Linked DNA regions of Homo sapiens: all the other regions are linked to region 1. The links are contacts of gene promoters, found by promoter capture Hi-C in blood cells and fetal thymus (Javierre and others, 2016). All regions are on one chromosome and are shown on one strand. Each heading gives the region's core, a stretch centred on a gene start or on the middle of the fragment in contact. The rest is flanking DNA. Distances are from core to core; before and after follow the strand shown.

Evidence for each region. The method cuts DNA at HindIII sites, captures the fragments that hold promoters and counts their contacts. A CHiCAGO score of 5 or more calls a contact.
Region 2: a contact is called between a fragment that was not itself captured here and the fragment with the promoter of HMMR-AS1 in region 1, in 4 of 17 cell types (total CD8 T cells, non-activated CD4 T cells, total CD4 T cells and 1 more). The highest score is 7.3, in total CD8 T cells.
Region 3: a contact is called between a fragment that was not itself captured here and the fragment with the promoter of HMMR-AS1 in region 1, in 2 of 17 cell types (non-activated CD4 T cells and activated CD4 T cells). The highest score is 6.0, in non-activated CD4 T cells.

What each region holds. Positions count from the first base shown.
Region 1 is chr5:163,492,798-163,495,312 of GRCh38, forward strand. HMMR-AS1 (HMMR antisense RNA 1) reads right to left here and starts at 1,261. Exons shown (of 4, transcript NR_109892.1): 1 at 902-1,261; 2 at 646-752. The HindIII fragment of the contact is 5,178 bases long and covers 1-2,515 here.
Region 2 is chr5:163,412,009-163,414,523 of GRCh38, forward strand. LOC105377700 (a long non-coding RNA gene) reads right to left here and starts at 1,546. Exons shown (of 4, transcript XR_002956233.2): 1 at 311-1,546. The HindIII fragment of the contact is 1,038 bases long and covers 742-1,779 here.
Region 3 is chr5:163,564,229-163,566,743 of GRCh38, forward strand. No RefSeq gene overlaps it. Among named protein-coding and RNA genes, the nearest start is that of MAT2B, 60 kb to the left of the region's middle. The HindIII fragment of the contact is 4,254 bases long and covers 1-2,515 here.

The DNA of each region.
Region 1 (2,515 bases), core at 11-2,510:
TGATGATGTACTCCTGCTGTCCACACCCAGCATTATGGCTTGTGGGTCAGATAACACCCAGCTCATGATGGGCAGCTCAGGTCGCATGGTAACTTAATTGACCACGGTAAGCATTCAGTCCCTACTGAAGCCCAGCAGTAGGCCCAGAGCTGTTTCTCAAAAGAGTAGTTATCTGCATAGGATAACAGGTCTTTCTTCAAAATACTAAGGGTCTGCACTGAGATTCATCTATGTGGGCCTGCCAAAGGTTCCAACAGCATCTCTATCTGCCACTGACACTTCAAATACCACTGGATCTGCAAGTTCATATGTCCCAAGCAACAAAGCCGCTTACACAATAGCCTGGACCTATTGCAGAACCTTTCCTATTCTGAGTCCTACTCCAAACTAGCAGCTTTTCAAGTCACTCAGTAAATGGGCCAGAGTAACAAACTCAAATGAGGAAACGTCTTCAAAATCCAAAGAGGCCTGCCGCATGTCATGCCTCTTCTGGTTGTAGGAGGGGGCAGATGCAAAAACTTACCTTAGAAGGGGTATCTCAACATGCCTCATACCACTGGACCCCTAGAAATTTTACTGAGACATGAAAAAGCCTTTGAATTTTTGTTGGATTTACTTCCCACTTCTGACATGCAAATGTCTTACCAATAGGTCTGGAGTAGTTGCTATGTCTCACTCATTAGGTCCAGTGAGCATAATGTCGTCAATGTAATGGACCAATGTGATGTGGAAAGAAAAGGCAATCAAGATTCCTGTGAACAAAATTAGGACAGGGCTGGTGAGTTGATATGCCCTGAGGTAGGACATGAAGGTGCATTTCTAGCCTTGCTAGCTAAAAGCAAACTGCTTCTGGTCGGCCTTATAGACAGGGATGGAGAGAAAGGCATTTGCCAGATCATACCAGGTAGCTGCATACCAGGAACCAGGAGTTGTGTTAATTTGCTCAAGCAATACATCTGGTACTGTAGCTGCAATTGGAGTCACCACCTAGTTAAGTTTGTGATAATCCATCTGTCTTCTGCCCAGGCTAAATAGGCGAGTTGAATGGACATATGGTAGGAATCACCACCCCGCCTTCCTTCAAGTACTTATGGTGGCACTAATCTCTTCAGTCCCTATAGGAATTGAGCATTGCTTTTGGTTTACTATTTTCCTAAGTACAGATAGTTCTAGTGGCTTCTACTTGGCCTTTTCCACCATAATAGCCCTCACTCCATAGGTAAGGAAACCAATGTGTGGATTATTCTGTCAGCTGCTGACTGTATTCTAATTATACATTCTAGAACTAGGGGATAACCACAGGATAGGTTCAGGAATTCACTGGGCCCATTGTGAGATGGAACTAAGCTAAAACTCTGCTGATCACCTGACCTCCATAAGCTGCTACCCTGACAGTAGCACTTTGGATCTCCTGAAATTAGTGTCACTTCAGAGAGCCAGTGTCCACTAGTTCACAAAAGATCTGATTATTCCCTTTTTCTAATGCACAGTTACGTTGGTAAAGGTTGTACATCCCTTTGCGGAGGACTAGGAGAAAGACTAACAGTATAAACATTTGGTTATGGACCAGGGTCCCTTTGAGGTCCTCCCCTTCAATCAAAGGGTTTTGGGCTCTATAAAGTGGCTCAAGTTTGGGAATTAAGGGACCACGATTCTGTTTTTATGATTCGAGTTCAACTTTCGTCACTTGACTTAGAAGTTTTCTGCTTATACAGATCAAGTTAAGACTTCAGTAGGCTTCCTATCTATTTCACGTCTAGGAAAACCATGATCAACTAGCCAAAGCATAGGTCTACAAGTGAGATTATTCTAATTGTTCCTTTGGCTCTGTCATTATGATAACCACTTCACCTTGCCTTTGGTGGTTGAGTCCCATTACTTGACCCTTGCCACCCTGGGATCCTTTACTTCCATTATATTTAGGTTTTCCAGTTCAGTGACTGCAGTGAGCTCTGGCCTACAGAGAAGAGCCATCACAGAGTTCTGAAAAAGATGCTGGAGCTCTCCTCGCAAATTTCTTTCTCATAGTATTGGTGAAAGGTATGCTTTCTTGACCTTCCCAGTGTGGATGAGTAGTTCTTTTTTTTTTTTTTTTTTTGAGACGGAGTCTCGCTCTGTCGCCCAGGCCGGACTGCGGACTGCAGTGGCGCAATCTCTGCTCACTGCAAGCTCCGCTTCCCGGGTTCACGCCATTCTCCTGCCTCAGCCTCCCGAGTAGCTGGGACTACAGGCGCCCGCCACCGCGCCCGGCTAATTTTTTGTATTTTTAGTAGAGACGGGGTTTCACCTTGTTAGCCAGGATGGTCTCGATCTCCTGACCTCATGATCCACCCGAGATGAGTAGTTCTTAAGTGAAAAATCTAATTTCCCAATATTCCTAAACCTTTTAATCCCATCCTCTAGATTAAACCAAGGCATGTCCAGCACTTCCAATTCATCTTTTCCATGTTTTAGTAAGCCAATCAAACTGTGAGCACCCTTTCTAACTCCCCAAGCTGCAATGTTAAATGCAGAA
Region 2 (2,515 bases), core at 11-2,510, 81 kb before region 1:
AAATGCTGGTATTACCGGCAGGAGCCACCACGCCTAGCCACTCATAGCATCTCTTAATAGAGAACTCTGTAAAATAAGATATTGAAAATGAAAATAAGATAAATACGTATTTTTAACCCAAACAAGATCTTGTCAGGCTACTTACTTTGAAACACATGATCTTCTTCAGTACTTGCCCCTAATGGCAGTAGTCTTAGTAAAGATTTAATTTTACAGGAAAAATGTTCCTTCTCAGCCCCCAAGCCAAATGTCCTCATCATCCTACCCTCAGAAACTCTATCCACACTTTGCCCAAGCCCCCGGAACTCACCAGTCTGGATTTGATCCGTCTCCAAGACCAAGCGGGGTGGTGCTCACACACCCCTGATCCTCCATCTGTGAAAGCAGAGACCAGAGAAGCATTTGATCTGCCTAAGACATCAGAGACAAGTTCAGTGGGCGCTCTCTGAGCCATTTCCTAAAAGTAGAGCCTGGGCTTCTGGTCCAATCTAGGGAGAGAGCACATGGTCCTCCAGACTTTGCTGACCTTATACTGGTCTATATGGTCTAGGTTCATCAAAGTGTTACTTTTGCCCCCTCTTCAAATTGTGCTGTTTAAACTTCTATTTCTCCATCTTCATCACTATCATGTCCCCTTGGGGTTGGAATCTCAAGAAGCCAACATATTGAAATGTTCAGAGCAATAAATGGTCTCCATAATCTTTGCAGTGAATACATCAACTCTATTTTGCTATCCCAATAAGCTTTTAAATATCCTAGTTTCATATGAATTTACATCAGGCCATAATGAGGCAATGGGACAACATTTAAACCACATATAGACTAAGTGGCGTTTAACTCACCAACTCAAGTGTGGAAGAAATTTCACATTATTTCCTTTAAACCTACTTTTCTCATTATGTCCTTCTGTAGACTTCCATGGGAATCTGGGGAGCTTATAAATACTTGAAAAAGTCAACAAGAGTTATTTAATCTTCAGCCCATTGTGATTGCTGCCACTATCCTCACTGTCTGATTCTGCAGGGCCCCTTGAAGTGGGCGGCTCCACCGCAGCCATGACACTGGGGCGCAAGGCACCTTGCCAAGCCGACCTAGGTTTCAGGCTTCTGGAGTTGAGCACTCCATTGGCAGTTTCTTCTGCAGCTTTGCCATTCTCTAGGTAAGGGCTAGGGCTGCTGCCAAGATTCCATCACGTCATAGTGCTATTGTATCATGGCCTCTTACCACTCTAGGAGAGGGGCTGGAGCATCCCTAATTATGCAGGTGAAAGCCCCTCTCAGGCAATCTGAAGTCTGGCTTTGCTAGAACTCTGTGCTGGCCTAGAATAAACAGGCCAAAGGTGCCCACGTGCCTGCTACCCCTACAGTCTGAAACTTCTCCAGTGAACACTGCTGTTTCAGGTCTGACAATCTGTGCCCCCTGGTCATTTGCCCTTATTTGTACATCAGATGCCCTATCCCAGAAAAGGAGATGATGAATCTCTGGAGTATGAATCACTTCATTATTTTATATCATTTTTTAAAATTATCTGATACTCTAAAGCCACGCAAAAAGATTAAGGGCATATTTGAACTACCTTTTAACAAGGCATGCTGAATATATGGTTGATTGTCACACGGTTCAATAAAAATTCACTAAAGCAATAGTGAAATAAATGTAAAAAGTCTAAATTCAAAATGTAAAGAGAATGGGAGAGGAGACAATGAAGAAGAAATTAACATGTTTTTTTGAGACTGAAAGTTGATATAGGAATGGTAACTGATTTACCAGAGCTGAGAAAGCTTAAAACATGACTTCAGGAAAGGTTTCCAAAAAAGAAATCCTATTCAGGAAAGAAAGAAAAAAAGGAAGGAAGGAAGGAAGGAAGGAAGGGAGGAAGGGAGGAAAGGAGAAAGGGGGAAGGGAGGAAGAGGGGAAGGGAGGGAAGGAGGGAGGGAAGGAGGAAGGAAGGAAAGAGGGGAGGGAGGGAGGGAAGGAAGGGAGGGAGGGAGGGAAAGAAAGGGAGAAAAAGAAGGAAGGAAAGAAGGAAGAGATGGAGGGAAGGTGAGACGGGAAGGAGGGAGGAGAGAGAAGCTCACAGAAATTGAAGGCTCCAGGTAACCTAGAAGATAGACTGAAATGTATGTGATCAGTTGATAATCTGTATAAGGAGCAGTTAAGCTCTCAGATCCCCATGCCCTCATCACAGCCAAGCAACTGCTCTTCCCTAACCCCCACAGCATACTGCAGTGCTTGTTCTCAAAGGACACTGCAGCAGAGAGACCCTAGACTCTGGAACACCTGGCACCCAGAAAGCAGGAGAAGGCATCCAACTAAAGACAGGTTCTGAGAATGCCAGCTCCCTTCCCTACCTCACTCTCAAAACACTTTCAAATAAATTTAATTTTAAGAAAATATCTGCTGACAGAATATCAGAGGATCCCTTGGTGGAGAAAATAAATGCCCCCCAAGAAGCTCTATATATAATTTTTGTGAAATAGTTTTGTGAATAGATCTCTCAGTTGTCTAATCATCA
Region 3 (2,515 bases), core at 11-2,510, 71 kb after region 1:
GTGTGGAATGAAACCCAGAGACCGGAATCTGATTTGAACAGAGGTTTTATTGTAAGCGGTATTTGTGTTCTTTATTCTCTTTATTTTTATTTTATTGTTTTTAATTTATGTTTACAGTCAACACAATAAGCCCAGTTTTTGTGTTCTTTAAAGTGTAAGTTTTTTTCACATATTGTTCAATGTTGTAAATGTTTTATATTTATGAAAACTACAGTTTTTAGTCATAACCTTTCAAGCCTCCTTGGGAAACAGCTGCACTATTCTTTTAGACCACACGAGGGCAATGGTGTCACGTGTAAAAGATGCTCGCCTGCTGCTTTCTGAACAGATGGCACATTTGTTAGACTTCATTGGATGTATTTTTCCTTTATTGAAGCACAGGGGAATTTCGCATTTGCAGGTAGAATGGGGAAAGACAGTTAAAATTTTATACCGTATTTTTATCTCTTTGTTTATGCTGATAAAGGTAGCAAAGGCAGTTGATTTTTTCTCTTTTTTGCTGTTTTGAGGGATTGGTGTGCTAACAAGTTGAGGTCAGCATTCATTACCACAGTGACCCTGGCAGAAGATGCTCTGTTGATTTTGCATTTCATTGAAAATGTCACAGAGATAATACATAAACCCGTCTTTCCCCCCCAAACCCTCCAATACCCTTTCGATATGATTCTCATCCTGTTGTTCCTATTGGATTATCTTTGTGATTAATGTTTCTCCACGCCCATTAAGTAGGGAGACTACAGCCAGCTTTCTCTGAGGATACCTTGTGTGACCTTACTTACTCCGCGGTCACAGAAACTCTGAAGTGTTCCTTTCACGGATGGGCTTGGTCCTGCTGGGTTCCTAATGTCCCCCAGTCTCTCTGGGTTCTGGAGGTCTTCACTCAGAACTAACCAGCTCACTCTTCCTAAGGCAGAATAATGCAGAGGTTTCACCCAAAAGTAGGCAGTACTAGCATCTTTTCTATGGGAATATTTGGTTTGCCATGTTATATTGGCCTGTCCATTTTAAAAAAAATTAGTTTTCAACGCTTAAATGCAAAGACTTCTCATTAAAGATCTAGGTTTCTTGCTTTTCTTGAAACATCGGACAGCATGGTATTTCTAGCCTGAACAGCCCCTGGTGACAATCGGCAGAGCCACCTTTGTGGCTTTATGCAGTCACTGCACACACAGATCTTCCCTTTTGTTTTCCTGACACTAAGGGAGGTGCCCTTTTTAACCACGTTTGTACTCTTTTCGTTGTAATAAAAAGGAAAATGAGAATTTAATACCCATGCCCGTCTCAAAGGAAAAAAAAAAATAGAAAGGTATAGTAGGAGAGCCACATGTCTCAAGAAAAAAAAATGATCCTAAATCTAGACCTCCCTGCTGTAGCACTTAGAGTAATTGCCTGGCCTTGCGGGCATTCGATTTTCAGCACCTGGGAGAGCTTCGTCTTTAAAAGTGGGCTGGCCTGGGGTTGTCCTTGGTTAAACCCCAAGGACACTTGAGAGTCCAGTCATCTTTTATCCTGATGGTTCAATGGGGACAACCTCATTTAATCTTACAACAGCCTGCGAGGTAGTCACTGTCCTATATGGGTACACTGCTTAGCGCCATACCGGGCACGCGTTCAGAGGTCGACCACGCCCTGACTTTTCCTTAGCTTTATTTTGGAAGCAGTGGGTTTTAAGGCTGGTGCTCCTCGGAGCCTCCTAACCATCACTCGTTTGGCAAGTTGCAGATACACTGCCTGACTAAGCTGGGAGAAAGAAAGGGTTAAAGAAGGAGAGCGGGAGGGGAAAACCCTTTGGATCGTGGGCTCTGACCCAGACGCGTCTCCATGCCCGCTCTGCAGCCTCGCGGTGGCAGCTGAGCTGCACGTAGCTGGAGGAGGCTGCAGGAACAGACAGGAAATCCATTCTTGTTCTGCAGATACGTCGGCAAAACTCCCAAAGCAAACAGCAGAGGAAGTTTGCTTTAGTGGAGACAAACTCACAACTTTGCTCTTTCAAAGCCTCTGTTTACAAGTCAAAGCCCAGGCTCAGTCGGGCTTTCTTCCCACACTCACCTCCAGAGGTGCTGCCTGCGGGCGTTTCGCTATCAAAGACCCGCAGCGCCGCGGCCGGTCCGGGATAAGCCGGTGGCTGCGGCTCCAATGCGGAACCGGTTCTCTAGCCGCTAAGGAGCCAGGGCTGCTCACCCCAGGCCCCCTGAGGTTCAAATTTGGGAAACGGAGAGATGGGGCGCGGGGGAAGCCCTTAGATCTAGTGAGCCCTAGAGTTGAGCATCACGCGCAGAATGAGGTGACTCAAAAAGGAAATTGGCAGGTGCTGGCCTTGGGTAATTTCCCAGTGCCCAAAAGTGCTAAACCACGCTGCTCAAAGAATAGAAGCCACCAAAATATCTGAGTGGTGGTGCTGGCTCTGTCACCTGAACTGTGTCCAGTGTTATACCTGAATTGGGTGTATCTGTTAGCTTAAAATAAGATAATACTGTAATAGCTAGAGTCTGGAATAAAAATAAGTTATCTAACG